2 separate regions of the Homo sapiens genome follow, and region 1 is linked to region 2. Evidence: promoter capture Hi-C in human tissues and cell types (Jung and others, 2019). All regions are on one chromosome and are shown on one strand. Each heading gives the region's core, a stretch centred on a gene start or on the middle of the fragment in contact. The rest is flanking DNA. Distances are from core to core; before and after follow the strand shown.

What was found. The method cuts DNA at HindIII sites, captures the fragments that hold promoters and counts their contacts. A contact is called where the count stands out against the background at its distance.
Region 1: a contact is called between the fragment with the promoter of ULK1 here and the fragment with the promoter of RAN in region 2, in 2 of the 25 tissues and cell types used here (dorsolateral prefrontal cortex and hippocampus).

The regions. Positions count from the first base shown.
Region 1 is chr12:131,892,488-131,898,516 of GRCh38, reverse strand. ULK1 (unc-51 like autophagy activating kinase 1) reads right to left here and starts at 3,895. Exons shown (of 28, transcript NM_003565.4): 1 at 3,405-3,895; 2 at 2,824-2,916; 3 at 2,693-2,734. The coding sequence starts at 3,515. It overlaps LOC124903059 (a long non-coding RNA gene), which reads left to right and starts at 4,359. Exons shown (of 2, transcript XR_007063538.1): 1 at 4,359-4,670; 2 at 4,942-5,459. RefSeq lists an enhancer at 914-1,711 and silencers at 2,079-2,138, 2,169-2,228, 2,199-2,493, 3,636-4,145, 4,176-4,225 and 1 more. The HindIII fragment of the contact is 30,695 bases long and covers 1-6,029 here.
Region 2 is chr12:130,870,244-130,876,353 of GRCh38, reverse strand. It overlaps RAN (RAN, member RAS oncogene family), which reads right to left and starts at 4,288. Exons shown (of 7, transcript NM_006325.5): 1 at 4,228-4,288; 2 at 3,725-3,770; 3 at 3,434-3,518; 4 at 3,226-3,351; 5 at 1,621-1,808; 6 at 572-742; 7 at 1-472. The coding sequence starts at 3,760. The coding sequence ends at 428. RefSeq lists enhancers at 2,427-2,496, 3,725-4,486, 4,984-5,063, 4,487-5,248 and silencers at 3,774-3,983, 4,034-4,173, 4,244-4,703. The HindIII fragment of the contact is 9,011 bases long and covers 1-6,110 here.

The DNA of each region.
Region 1 (6,029 bases), core at 2,646-5,145, 1.0 Mb before region 2:
AAAAAAAAGAAAAGCAAAACCATAAGAGATGTCATTTTCTACTTCTCACATGAGCCACGATGGAAACCTCTGAGAGCCACCCTCCTGGCAAGGACCTAGGGAGACACATGCTTGGAGACAGGCTGAGAGACCAGTGGCATTGCCTCTCCGGAGGTCCATTTGGCAATAGCTACCCAAATTAAAAACCAGCATCCCTCCTACCCAAGGATTCTACTTCTAAGGATCCAGTCACAACCACCCTGATGTACCAGCATCCCAAAATAACCTCATGTCCCACCTACAGGGCCTTGGTGAAATCAGTTATGGAATCTCGGGCAACAGGCACGCCATGGCTGAAAATCACCACGGCAGACCCAATCAGGCCAGCAGCTAGCACCTCCACGATGGCTCCTCCAACCCGAGAGCACTCCCTCCTCCCTCACACAGCCCTCACAGCCCGTGCTTTCTGCTTCACAGAGGAAGAAATAGGACCGCAAACTAAAGAAGCTGTGTGTGCACATATGGCAGCCAGGACTGGGCCCCTCATCAGCGTCAGCCTGGCTCTCGACCACTGTGCTTACAGATGGTGACCTCTAACAGAGAGGGGTAAACTTTTTGAGGGTTTTGTTTTGTGTTTTTGAGACAGGGTTACACTCTGCTGCCCAGGCTGGAACGCGGTGGCAACATCACGGCTCACTGCAGCCTTAAACTCCTGGGTTTAATCAATCCTCCTACAACCTTTATAGTAGCTGAGACATGCCACTATGCCTGGCTAATTTTTTTTCTTTTTTTTTCTTTTTTTTAGAGAGAGCGAGTCTTGCTATGTTGCCCAGGCTGGTCTGTCTTGGCCTCCCACAGTGCTAGGGTCACAGGTGTGATCCACTGTGCCTGGCCGAGGGGTAAACTTTCTGATATGGATTGAGCCAGCACAGAACCTTCCCCAAGCTCTACTCTTTTAGAGACAGGGCCTCGCTCAGTCGCCCAGGCTGGATGGAGTGCAAACTATACTCTTAAGTGACAAAATTCACGGCGCAGAGAGGTGGGTGTGGCGGGGAAGGACACCGGTGAACACATCGCCTTGTAAGGATGGCTGTCCCCGGTGGCCCGGAAACAACTAAAGCAGGGGCCTGAGAACGGAGGGCAGCGGGACTCGATCGGGGGCAGGACTCTAGCCTCGACCGCACTCCCTCCCGTAATGTTTGAGGATTTTCTTTTATCACCCAAATCGTTCATTGTCCATTTTTAAAACCCAGTTATTTTTTCCTGGGTTTGGGTGCCTGCCTCAAACATTGCCTTACCGACACAGGGCAACAATCCCCACGCCTGTGGGGGCGAGGGCAGGCTAAGCTGCAGCTCCAGCAGAGCCCGGTGCCCGGAGACAGGAGCGCCTGCAGCTGGCGGCTCCAAGTGCTTCCTGAGTAGAGAAAGCCGCAGAGTTGCCAACACTGGAGGAAGTGGCAGATGCCCACAACCAGGTGTGTGTGGCTGACTGGGATGGAGCTGGGCCTGGGGATACTGGTCCCGGGTCTGCGGGGGTCGTGCGGACAGTCACAGGGCCTGGCCTGGAGATGCCCAGGACTGGACCTGGGGAGCCCTGGAGGGGAGCAGCAGGCAGTGTAGCCCAGGGTGGAGGGGGAGTCCCTCAGAGTCGCTGCCTGGCCAGGGACAGCTGTCCACTCCTTGCTGGCTCCCAGAGCCATGACGCATGTGCAGGCTGTGGTCCAGGCAGGAGGCTTCCAAACATGGAGAGGATGAGGAAAGAGGAGGAAGGGAGGGAGGAAAGCAGGGAGAAAAGGGGTGGGAAGAGGGCGGGAAAAGCAGCAGGAGGGATGGCCCAGCTCCAGGACACAGTGTGCCTGGGTTTCCAGGTACTCGCTGGACCTGGGCCCCCCCCACCCGGCACCTTGTGACAAGCCTCGGTCCCCAAGGCCACAGCAAAGCTCTGAGAGGCGGACGGAGGAGGCCACCAAAACACGGCCTGCCAGCCCTTCCCTCAGCCAGGGGCTGGGCCCTGGGCTCAGTAAACAGGTCACAGAGCCATTAGTCAGCACTTTGGCGGGGCGGATCTCCCGCCTCAGGTTCCTGGTCCCCAGGACGGCACCCTGGCTCCCACAGCCCCAGCCCTGCCTGCCCTGGGCCCCGGGACACGGAGGCAGCACGAAAGCCAGCTGGTCCCACCGCTTGCTTCTTGGGGCCAGCCGGGCCCGAGGTCATCTCCTTGGCCAGCCAGCGGCAGCCGCCTGTGCCCCGGCCCGGCCCTGACTGCCAGCGAGCAGGAGTCTCCGGCGGCCCCTCCCCCGCCCCGTCTGACGCAGAGCGAGGCCGGCCAATGCCGGCCGCAGGAGCAATGTCAACAAACACACGGCCTAGACAGGTGGGCCAGGCCGGCAGTGCTGCCAGGGCCAGCCGGGGACGCCGGACTCAGGCAGGGCCCCTAGGACTGACGCCCGGCGGGGAGGGGATGCCTGTTCAGGAGAACTCAGCCCTGCCCTGGGGCGCCCTGCGGCCCAGACACCCCCTCCCCGGTCTCACAGCTGGGGAAGTCACAGCAAGAGCCAGCACCAGCCCAGGCCTGGACCCAGGGTGGAGTCTCCAGGGGCCCAGTAGACCCCAGCCTGGACAGGCTCAACACCAGTGCTCACCAGGGGATCCAGCACCTGGGGCCACAGTCCCCCAGCCCGGTCCCCAGCAGACCGCAGCCCAGAGGCCTTACCTGGAAGTCGTACAGGGCCACGATGTTTTCATGTTTCAGTTCCTAGGACAGAAACCCAAGTTTGTTATCAGTGTGGGGAGGGGGGCTTGCCCACGCCCACGCCCACGCCCCCTCCCCCAGCACTGGCTCACCTTCAGGATTTTGATTTCCTTCCCCAGCAGCGTCTGAGACTTGGCGAGGTTCTTCTTGTTAATGCACTTGACGGCGACCTCCAAATCGTGCTTCTGAAAGCCAAACGTGCACCTTCAAGGCCAGGGCTGCCCCTCGCAGGCCTCCCCCAGACCCCAGTCCACACAGGTGGGGCCCTGAGATGATCCCGGTTGGGAATCCCGGGACTGGAAGGCCGAGTGGGGAGCCAGGTTGAGGATCGCGCTGGGGGTCCTGGGGTAGGGATCCAGCCTCGAAAGCCGGCTGTGGGACCAGGTTGCGGGGTGTCCCGGGGTGAGGGTTTGGACAGGAAAGTCGGGCTGGGGGTCTCGGAGTGAGGATCTGGGCTGGAAAGCCCGGCAGCGGATCTCGGGGCGGGAGTCTGAACTGGAAAGTCGGGCTGGGGGTCGCGGGGTGGGGATCCTGGGGTGGGGGTCGGCCTGGAAAGTCGAGTGGGGCTCTCGGGAGGCGTGGGGGGGTCCCGGGACAGGCGGGGAATCTCGGGGCGGGGATGCAGGGGCAGGGGATCCTGGGCGGGGGATCCCGGGCCGGACGGGGGCCTCACCTCGCGGTGGCGGCCCTTGAAGACCACCGCGAAGGCGCCGTGGCCGATCAGGTCCTTGCGGGAGAACTCGAACTTGCCCACGGTCTCTGTGCCGCCGCGGCCGGGCTCCATGGCGCAGGCGGGCCGGGGGCGCGGGGCGGGGGGTGGCGGGCCAAGGCGCGGGGGACTCAGGCGGAGGCGCGGGCCGGGGCGGGCGGGCCGGGGGCGCGGGGCCGGGGGCGCGGGGCCGGGCGAGGGCGCATCTCCGGGGCCGCGCGCCCCATCGGGCAGGCCGGGGCCGGGTCCCAGCCCCGCGGGCCAGGCGGGGTCCGAGGGTCGCGCTCCCTCCGGCGCCTGTGCCACGGCACTCTTCCCGGGCTGCTAATCCGAATCCGGATCCGACTCCGACTCCGACTCCGGCTCCAACTAGGGCCCGGGCTCGGCCCCAACGGAGAAACAAAAGAGCCGCGGCGCCCGGGCCTCAGAGCCTGAGACGCCCGCGCAGCCGCACTGCGCGCCGGGCCGGGAGGCGGGATGAGGGCGGGGCCTGCGGGACGGAGCGGCAGAGCCGGGCGTGACGAACAGACGGGGGGCGGGGAATGGGGCGGGGCCTGTCGGGGGGGTGGGCGGCTGGGCCGGGCCATTGCGGGGCCGGGTGGGCTGGGAGTGGGTGGGGCCAACAGCGGACCCGCCCCGGTGAGAGCAGAGAGGCGCGCTGACCCGGGAGCGGGCCACGGGGCTCAGTGTTGATTCCTTGCCCCACTCCCTTCCACGCCCCTTCCCCGCCCCTTCCCCGCCCCGCTTCTTCTCTGCTCCCCTCCCTCCTTTCCCCTCTCTCCGTCCTCCTCCCTCCTTTTCCCCTTCCCATCACCTCTCTCCCTCCCTGCCCCCTCCCTTCCGCCCCCTCCCATGCCTTCCCCCCCGCTCCCCTCCCGCCCCCACTGCCTGTTCTCCTCCCTCCTGTCCCCCCTCCCTGTTCCCCTCCCTCCCCTTCCCTGTTCCCCTCCTTCCCGCTCCCTGTTCCCCTTCTACAGGAGAATGGAGAACAGGCGTGGGAAATGTTCCCAAAACGGGGGACTGCGCAGAATTAATTCTTAGAAATAGAATGGCTGAGTTAGAGGTTAGGCATTTAAAGTTGAGTTCCATAATGCCAAATTGCAAAAAAAAAAAAAAAAATTGTAGACCAAAAAGTTGTCACCCAAACCAACGACATAGCCCATAAATCCGCTGGGGAGGAAAGGTTAGCTAGATGGGCTGCGCATCGGTCCTGTGGAACACTGCACAGAGGTAAATATACCTGTGCTCAAGGGTGAGTTCTCCAAAGATTATAATTAAGTAAAAGCAAAATATGGAACAGGGCACTGTACTGTCTGTCGTTTTAAGAAAGCGGTAGGATTGGGATGTGTGTGTGTGTGAAACGCCTGTAATGTGTACATGGTCGTTCCTAACTATAATGACAGCTAACTCATCACTTAGGCCAAGCAGCGCACTTTCCAGCGATTAGTGCATCCATTCAATGATTCCACGAGGCACTTGCTGTTATGTCCCTGTTTTACAGATGAGGAAATCAAGGCGGAGAAAAGTTGGAGAATGTGTCCAAAGTCACACCGCCGGCAGCCAAAAGAGCCCGGGGGCTCACTCACAGAAGACACAGCCAACAGCGATTGCTCTGGGAGAGAGGACCGGGGAAAAGTTAGTGCTGTTCACCGTACACGTTGCGCGCTAGTTGGAATGGCTTTCACCACGTGCAAGCACTGCTTTTGCAAATGCATGATTCTAAACAATGCTCACCAACCCAGCCTTCAGTACAGTCCTAAAGTAACAGCCCAGAAACACACACTTCAGCCAGGACCCTCCATGCTGCCTCCCAGAGCAGCCCAGCAGCTGGACAGCCTGATGCCCTGGGCTGGATCAGCAAGTCCTGGATGCCTTTTACCTGCACCCAGCTCATCCTCCAGGCCGCAGGACACACAGACTCCCGACCCTGGACTGGGGGCCAGAAGCCACCGAGCTGGAAGGGACAAGAGGTCTCCTGGCCCACCATGTTTGTTTTCCCAATAAAGAGGTTCCACAGTGCCCCGTAGTCAGCCATAGCATTCACTCACATCCTGGAGTGCCTGCTGCACACCGGCCTGCCCAGAGAGCACACGCTGCGAGGTAAGTGCTGCAGTTGACACAGTGAGAACAAGACCCGCCTGCAGGAGCTCCCAGCGCTTAGGGGTGGGGGACAAGAAGAGCAAAGATTGCACCACCCGTGGCAAAATTGCAAGAGAAAAATGAGTGAACAGGTGGCTACGTGCTGAGGTGATCAGGGCAGACCGTGAGGGCCGAGATTGCTAGAGATGGCGAAGCCTGTACTCCTGGAAAGTACTCAGGGAACCCCAGCCCAGCCCACCCTGGCCTGGAAAGCCAAGCTAACGGGGTCTTCACCCCAAACTCAAAGAAATACCCAGGAAGAGTTTAGGAGAGGGTGGGATGGCAAGATGGGATTTGCATTTGGAAACCGTTACTAGGCCCACCGAGGAAGGACATGTTTCTTTTTTGTTTTGTGCGGTCTTATTAAATTTTTTATTCTTTTTATAACTTTTAGGTTCAGTGGTGTGTGGACAGGTTTGTTATACAGGTAAATTATGTTTCACAGGGTTT
Region 2 (6,110 bases), core at 3,039-5,538:
AACATGGCATAAAACTTCCCTACTTTAGTGGTTTCCAAATGCTATTTATAAACAAGGGATGAGTTCACTTGCTTAGATATTTGAAATACAACTTTATTCTGATTCTAAACGAAAAGGAATGGGAATGACAGTAACAAACAAGATTTCACCACTGAATATTGTGATGTGACTGCAGCAGTCTTATATATGAAACTCAAGGAATCAACTGCGTTCCAAAACAGCTAAATATGCAGGTCCAAACAATGAAGTTATTTTTTAAACTGCCACATTCACTCCGAAGCCCACTCATCTCCTTCAGCATCCCACAGATGAAGCACATGTTCCGCTTAGCTAGATAATAATGAGGTGGCACACACGCTGCACCGCTGACATCACAGGACAGCTGCCTATAAAACTAGACTTCTGACGCTGGGCTCCAGCTTCATTCTCACAGGTCATCATCCTCATCCGGGAGAGCAGTTGTCTGAGCAACCTAGACGAAGAGATGGAAAAACGTTAACACTCCAGATCAAAACTGCCAGGAATAAACAAGCCAAACCGAACAATCTGAACAGCAAAGTGGCCACAATACCTCTAAGTCGTGCTCATACTGTGCTGCCAAAGCTGGGTCCATGACAACTTCTGGTGGGGCGAGAGCAGGCATGGCAACAAATTCCAAGTTAGGGTCTCCAATGAGCTTCCTAGCAAGCCAGAGGAAGGGCTTTTCAAAGTTGTAGTTACTTTTGGCAGAAATGTCGTAGTACTGTTTAAAAGAAAGGTAAAATTACTTTTTAAAATTCATTATTAAGATGACGATTTTTCTAGGACATTGCAAGATAAGAAAATGTTAAGATTCTTGGCAAGGCATGGTGGCTCATGCCTGTAATCCCAGCACTTTCGGGGGCTGAGGTGGGATTGCCTGAGGCCAATAGTACACGATCAGGCCTGGGCAACAGAGCAAGACCCCAACTCCACAAAAAAACAAATTAGGTGGGCATGGTGGTGAGTGCCTGTGAGCCCAGCTACTCAGAAGGCTGAGGTGGGAGGATTGCTTGAGCCCAGGAGTTCAGGGCTACAGTGAGCTATGTTCATGCCACTGCACTCCTGCCTGGGCAACAGAGCAAGACCCTGTCTCGAACAACAAATATATAAATACACAAACATTTCAGCTGACCAACCGGGCCAACAGTGAAACCCAATCTCTATCATTCTTTAAAAACAGTAGTATAAAAAAGACAAAATTATTTCCGGCCGGGCACAGTGGCTCATGCCTGTAATCCCAGCCCTTTAGGAGGCCAAGGCAAGTGGATCACTTGAGGTCAGGAGTTGGAGATCAGCCTGACCAACATGGTGGAAACCCCGTCTCTACTAGAAAAAAAAGTACAAAAATTAGCCAGGCGTGGTGGTACACACCTGTAATCCAGCTACTAGGGGAGCTGAGACAAAACTGCTTGAACCCGGGAGGCGGAGGTCGCAGTGAGCCAAGATTGCGACACTGCACTCCAGCATGGGGGACAGAGGAAGACTCCGTCTTGGGGAAAAAAAAATCATTTCCATATATAATAGACACTGGTTAATTTCATGGTCTTACATATAATCTCCGCTAAGAGAAATAACTCAGGAAGTTTTAATTTTACACACCTGAAGATTCTTCTTTCGGTGGAAGACAATGGATTTCGCCTTCACTTTCCTGTCCTTAATATCCACTTTGTTGCCACACAACACAATGGGGATGTTTTCACACACTCGTACCAGATCTCTATGCCAGTTAGGCACATTCTTGTAAGTAACTCTCGATGTTACATCAAACATTATGATGGCACACTGGGCTGAAGAAACATTTGTGGGAATTAGTACACTCAGTTTACTGCACAAGTGAAGAATGCTAAGAACCAGAGACTAGGATTCAACTAGTTATAGTCTTAGACCTCAACGAGTCACCTGTATCTCTCCCCTCACTTTCAAGGTCTCTGTCAATTCTAAAAATGTTAATACACAATTCCTCCTAAGAGAGATGAGCTGACCCTATCAAATCTCCCTGATATACTTCACCATTAATACTCCCCTCATCCCAAAAAAGTATCTGAAGTAATTAATGCTAAATGAGATTCTGGATAACCAAGCTGCCATATTCTGAGGGTAGGGCCTGGAAACACATTCTTCAGAAGGTCTTTAAATGGCTGGCTATACTGGAAAACATTATTCCTGTCTTAAAAAATCCAGATAGGCCAAGCAATGTGGCTCACGTCTGTAATCCCAGCACTTTGAGAGGCTGAGGTGGGTGGATCACCTGAGCTCATGAGTTCCAGACCAGCATGGGCAACATGGTGAATCCCCATCTCTACAAAAAAATACAAAAATTAGTCAGGCATAGTGGCACGTGCCTATAGTCCAAGCTACTCAGGATGCTGAGGTAAGAGGATGGCTTGAGCTTAGGAGGCGGAAGCTGCACTCCAGGTTGGGCAACAGAGCGAAACCCTGTCTCAAAAAAAAATTAAATAAATAAATAACCCAGATAAAGCCTATATATTCACCTGCAGGAATAACTATGGTACAGTTAGCAAGGCAAGAAACCACAACTTTTTGGTTAAAGGATTCTTTTGGGGGAAATTCTTGTGTTTATTTGTACATGCTCAAGGAAAGCAAAAGGCATGGAATGATTCCAGATAATGTGTTATCGGCAACGTGAGGTTCCAAGAGAGATGAGTATTTTCTTGATTCCTCTTTTTGGTACAATGAACATTTTCCTTGCAATTTTTAAATCAAACTATTTGAGAAAAATACTCTGCACAACTTAGTACAAACAATTTAACAAGAAATCAGCTAGTCTTGTATAACACTTGTTAAGATCTCCTATCTCCTCTGGTCTAGTATCTGGTGTTTATTGTTTTCTAATACAGTAAAAACATTCATTGATCACCACACCAAAATACATACATGAACCTAAGTTTCCAAATACTGAAACTGCTGTTAACAGCCTATTATTGTTTTAAATATGACTTATAAGTCCCAGTGTAAGTCATAGTTTTTTCTAAAGCATGCCTAGCATGACACAGCATGCAAATGACACAACTTTAATAAAATTTTCTCTGCCACCAAAATGGTGGTCAACTCCCCGAAGTCCACTTGTCTTTTTTTAACCCAAAAATGACACTATTTGTTGGAACAGACCTGATTTTCTATAACCTTGAAGACTGAAGTACACAAAACCTCTCAAAAACCGTTCAGCAAGTTACAAATGCCTACCTTGGATATAATAGCCATCTCTCAGTCCACCGAATTTCTCCTGGCCGGCTGTGTCCCATACATTGAACTTAATAGGTCCTCTGTTGGTGTGGAACACTAGGGGATGAACCTCAACACCCAAGGTGGCTGAAACGGAAACGATGCGATTGAGTGGATGAACTTACCCATTTCTCACATATTTCCACAAGCAAGGTTTTCCAGCACATACCTACATACTTCTTCTCAAATTCACCAGTCAAATGACGTTTCACGAAGGTCGTTTTTCCAGTACCACCATCACCAACCAATACAAGCTGTTGAAAAACACATTTTGGAAGTAAACCCTAAACACTTCACCTCTCAAGATCCCAGAGTCACGGAACTTTAACCACCACAGGCTCACTTAAAACAAAGAATGTGGATGCGGGGCCCCATTACAGCCATCGTGGCCCCAGGAGGAGGGACCCGCGAGTCGCACGCGGTCGGGCTCGGCCGCCTCCCGCCCCGCAGGGTTACCTACTTTGAACTGGACCTGGGGCTCTCCCTGCGCAGCCATCGCGGCGTTCCTGCGGAGGCAGAGGACGGAGGCGAGCGCTCGCGCGGCCCCGCAGCCCATGGCGGCCCCGCTCCCGCGCCCCCAGCGCCCCACGTGCCCGCCCCACAAAGGCCTCCCGCCCGCGGCGCCATGGCGGCCAGGCCTGGGAGCGGGAAGGCGGCGGGCGGGGCCGGCATCCGGGGCGGCGGGGCCCGGGGAACGGCGGCCGGAGGTGTAGGGATGGGAACGGGACTGGGACCGGGACGGGGATGAGAGCGGAGGATGAAACGGGGGTTCGCGGGGGCTAGCGCCGACCCCACGCCCGTCTCCTGCCCCGGCCCGGCCGGGCCCGCACCACCCACCTACTCAGCCGCCCGCTGCCCCTGGGTCCGCCACCCGCCCCGGCCCTGGCCCCGGCTCCGACCCCTATCCCGCCGCCGCCACCCCTGTCCCCGCCCGGCCGTGCCGGGCCCGCCGGGTCGCGATACCTTCCAGAAGCGTCTCCGCGCCCGTCCGACTGAGGCTGGAAAGATGGCGGAAGCGCAATTCAAACGCCGGAGACGCAGCCGACGCCGGCGCGAGAGCAGGGGCGGGGCCGGCGCGGGGCGGGGTTGCAAGGGGCGGGGCAACGGCGCGGCGCCCGCCCACGTGGCCCGCGCGTGCGCGCACGCACGCAACGCGGTTCGGTCGGCCGCTCGGGCGGTCGCTGCGCTTAGGGTGGGGCGGGAGGCGCGGTGGACCGCGTGGGAGGGCGAGCCGGGAGCGCGTACGCAAGCCGGCCGGTGGGGACCGCGTGCGCCGACGCCCCGGGCGGGCTCCCGGGCGCGCATGCGCTGAAAGCGAGGCGGCGCGCCCCTGAGCGGGAGACGTTGGGCGCGGCCCGACGGTCGCGGCTCTCCTGCCTCCCGGGTGGGAGGCGGTACTCGCTCGGGCAGACGTGGTCAGGCACGCGGCTTCCAGGCGCTGGCCAGCCTGTCCTTGTCTGTGCCCCGTGGGGTGGGGGTTCTTGAGGTCCTGGGGCTTAGGGTGGCTCGCGTGCGCGCAGGACGGGTGGGTGACAGAACGAATGAATGAATGAATGGGGTCTAGGCCCGTCCTCCAGAGGCAGCCCGCTGTTCTGTCTCTCCAGATCGTAGCCTTCACGCCCCCAGGACCAGGGCCAGTTGGAGAGCGAGGAACCAGAGAGGGATGCACCCACCCAGAAAAACGGCTACTTATTTTTTTTAAGAGACGGAGTCTCGCTACGTTGCCCAGGCTGGTCTCGAACTCTCAGGCTCGGGCGATCCTCCCGCCTCAGCCTCCCGAGTAGCTGGGACTACAGGCGCGCACCACATCAGGGGTAATTTTTTAAAAATTTTTTTGAGAGACAGAATCTAACTATGTCTCCCAGGCTGGCCTCAGGGGATCCACCCGCCTCGGCCTCCCAAAGCGTCCGGCTTCTCAAAGCGTTTCATAGGTTGGCAGCTTTGGCCGCTGCATGCTACAGACAAAATGATGAAATACTGTTTGCAGTCTGGACGCGTCTACCAGCCCTAGTTACCAACGGGGACGGAATGAGTAAGTGCTCAGCTTCCCAGCCCCCTGTTGGCCTGAAGCTGTAAGAGCCCAAACAAGCTTGAGCTAGAGGGACCCGACTTCCTGGGCGCCCCTGCCGACATGCAGACAGATAAAGGCCCAAATCAGCGCAGTCAAGCGCCTCAGAAGAGTCCACCATGGGGAGAGAGCCGCAGTGACCGAAGAGTCCTCCCTGCAGTCCTGAGCACACTTGCAGGCGAGTCCGCTAGGAACCCCAGTGACGCAAATTAGGCACAAAGCAGGCGACAACCGGCCTGCTGGGAACGCAAGTCCGAGCTCCCCCAGAACCCTCAGGGGAACCCCAAGCACCTCTCAGACGCTGCTGGCGGGAGAGCAGAATCTAACAGTAAAACGGGAATGCCCATTGCTTGTGACCCCGGATTTCCATTTCTAGGGAGAGGCCCCAGAGTTAAACTCATGCCTCACGCATGTGCACAACATTTAATACTGTATAACATTTAAAAGGAATGACGGTCATCTGTTTCAACAGGGTTAGATAGATGTCAAAAGGATAGTGTTGAGAAAAGAAGAAAGAGGTGATAACAGCTTTATAAAGTCTAGGCCACCTGTAATCCCAGCACTTTGGGAGTCCGAGGTAGGAGGATCCCTTAAACCCAGGAGTTACAGGCTGCAATGGGCAATGATCTCACCATTGCACTCCAGCCTGGGAGACAGAGCAAGACCCTGTTTTCAAAAATTAATACATAAAACCTAACACTATATGTAACTTTATCTAGAGGGATTATATATATAGTATAATGTCATTTATGTATATTTTTTACAAATACACATAAAA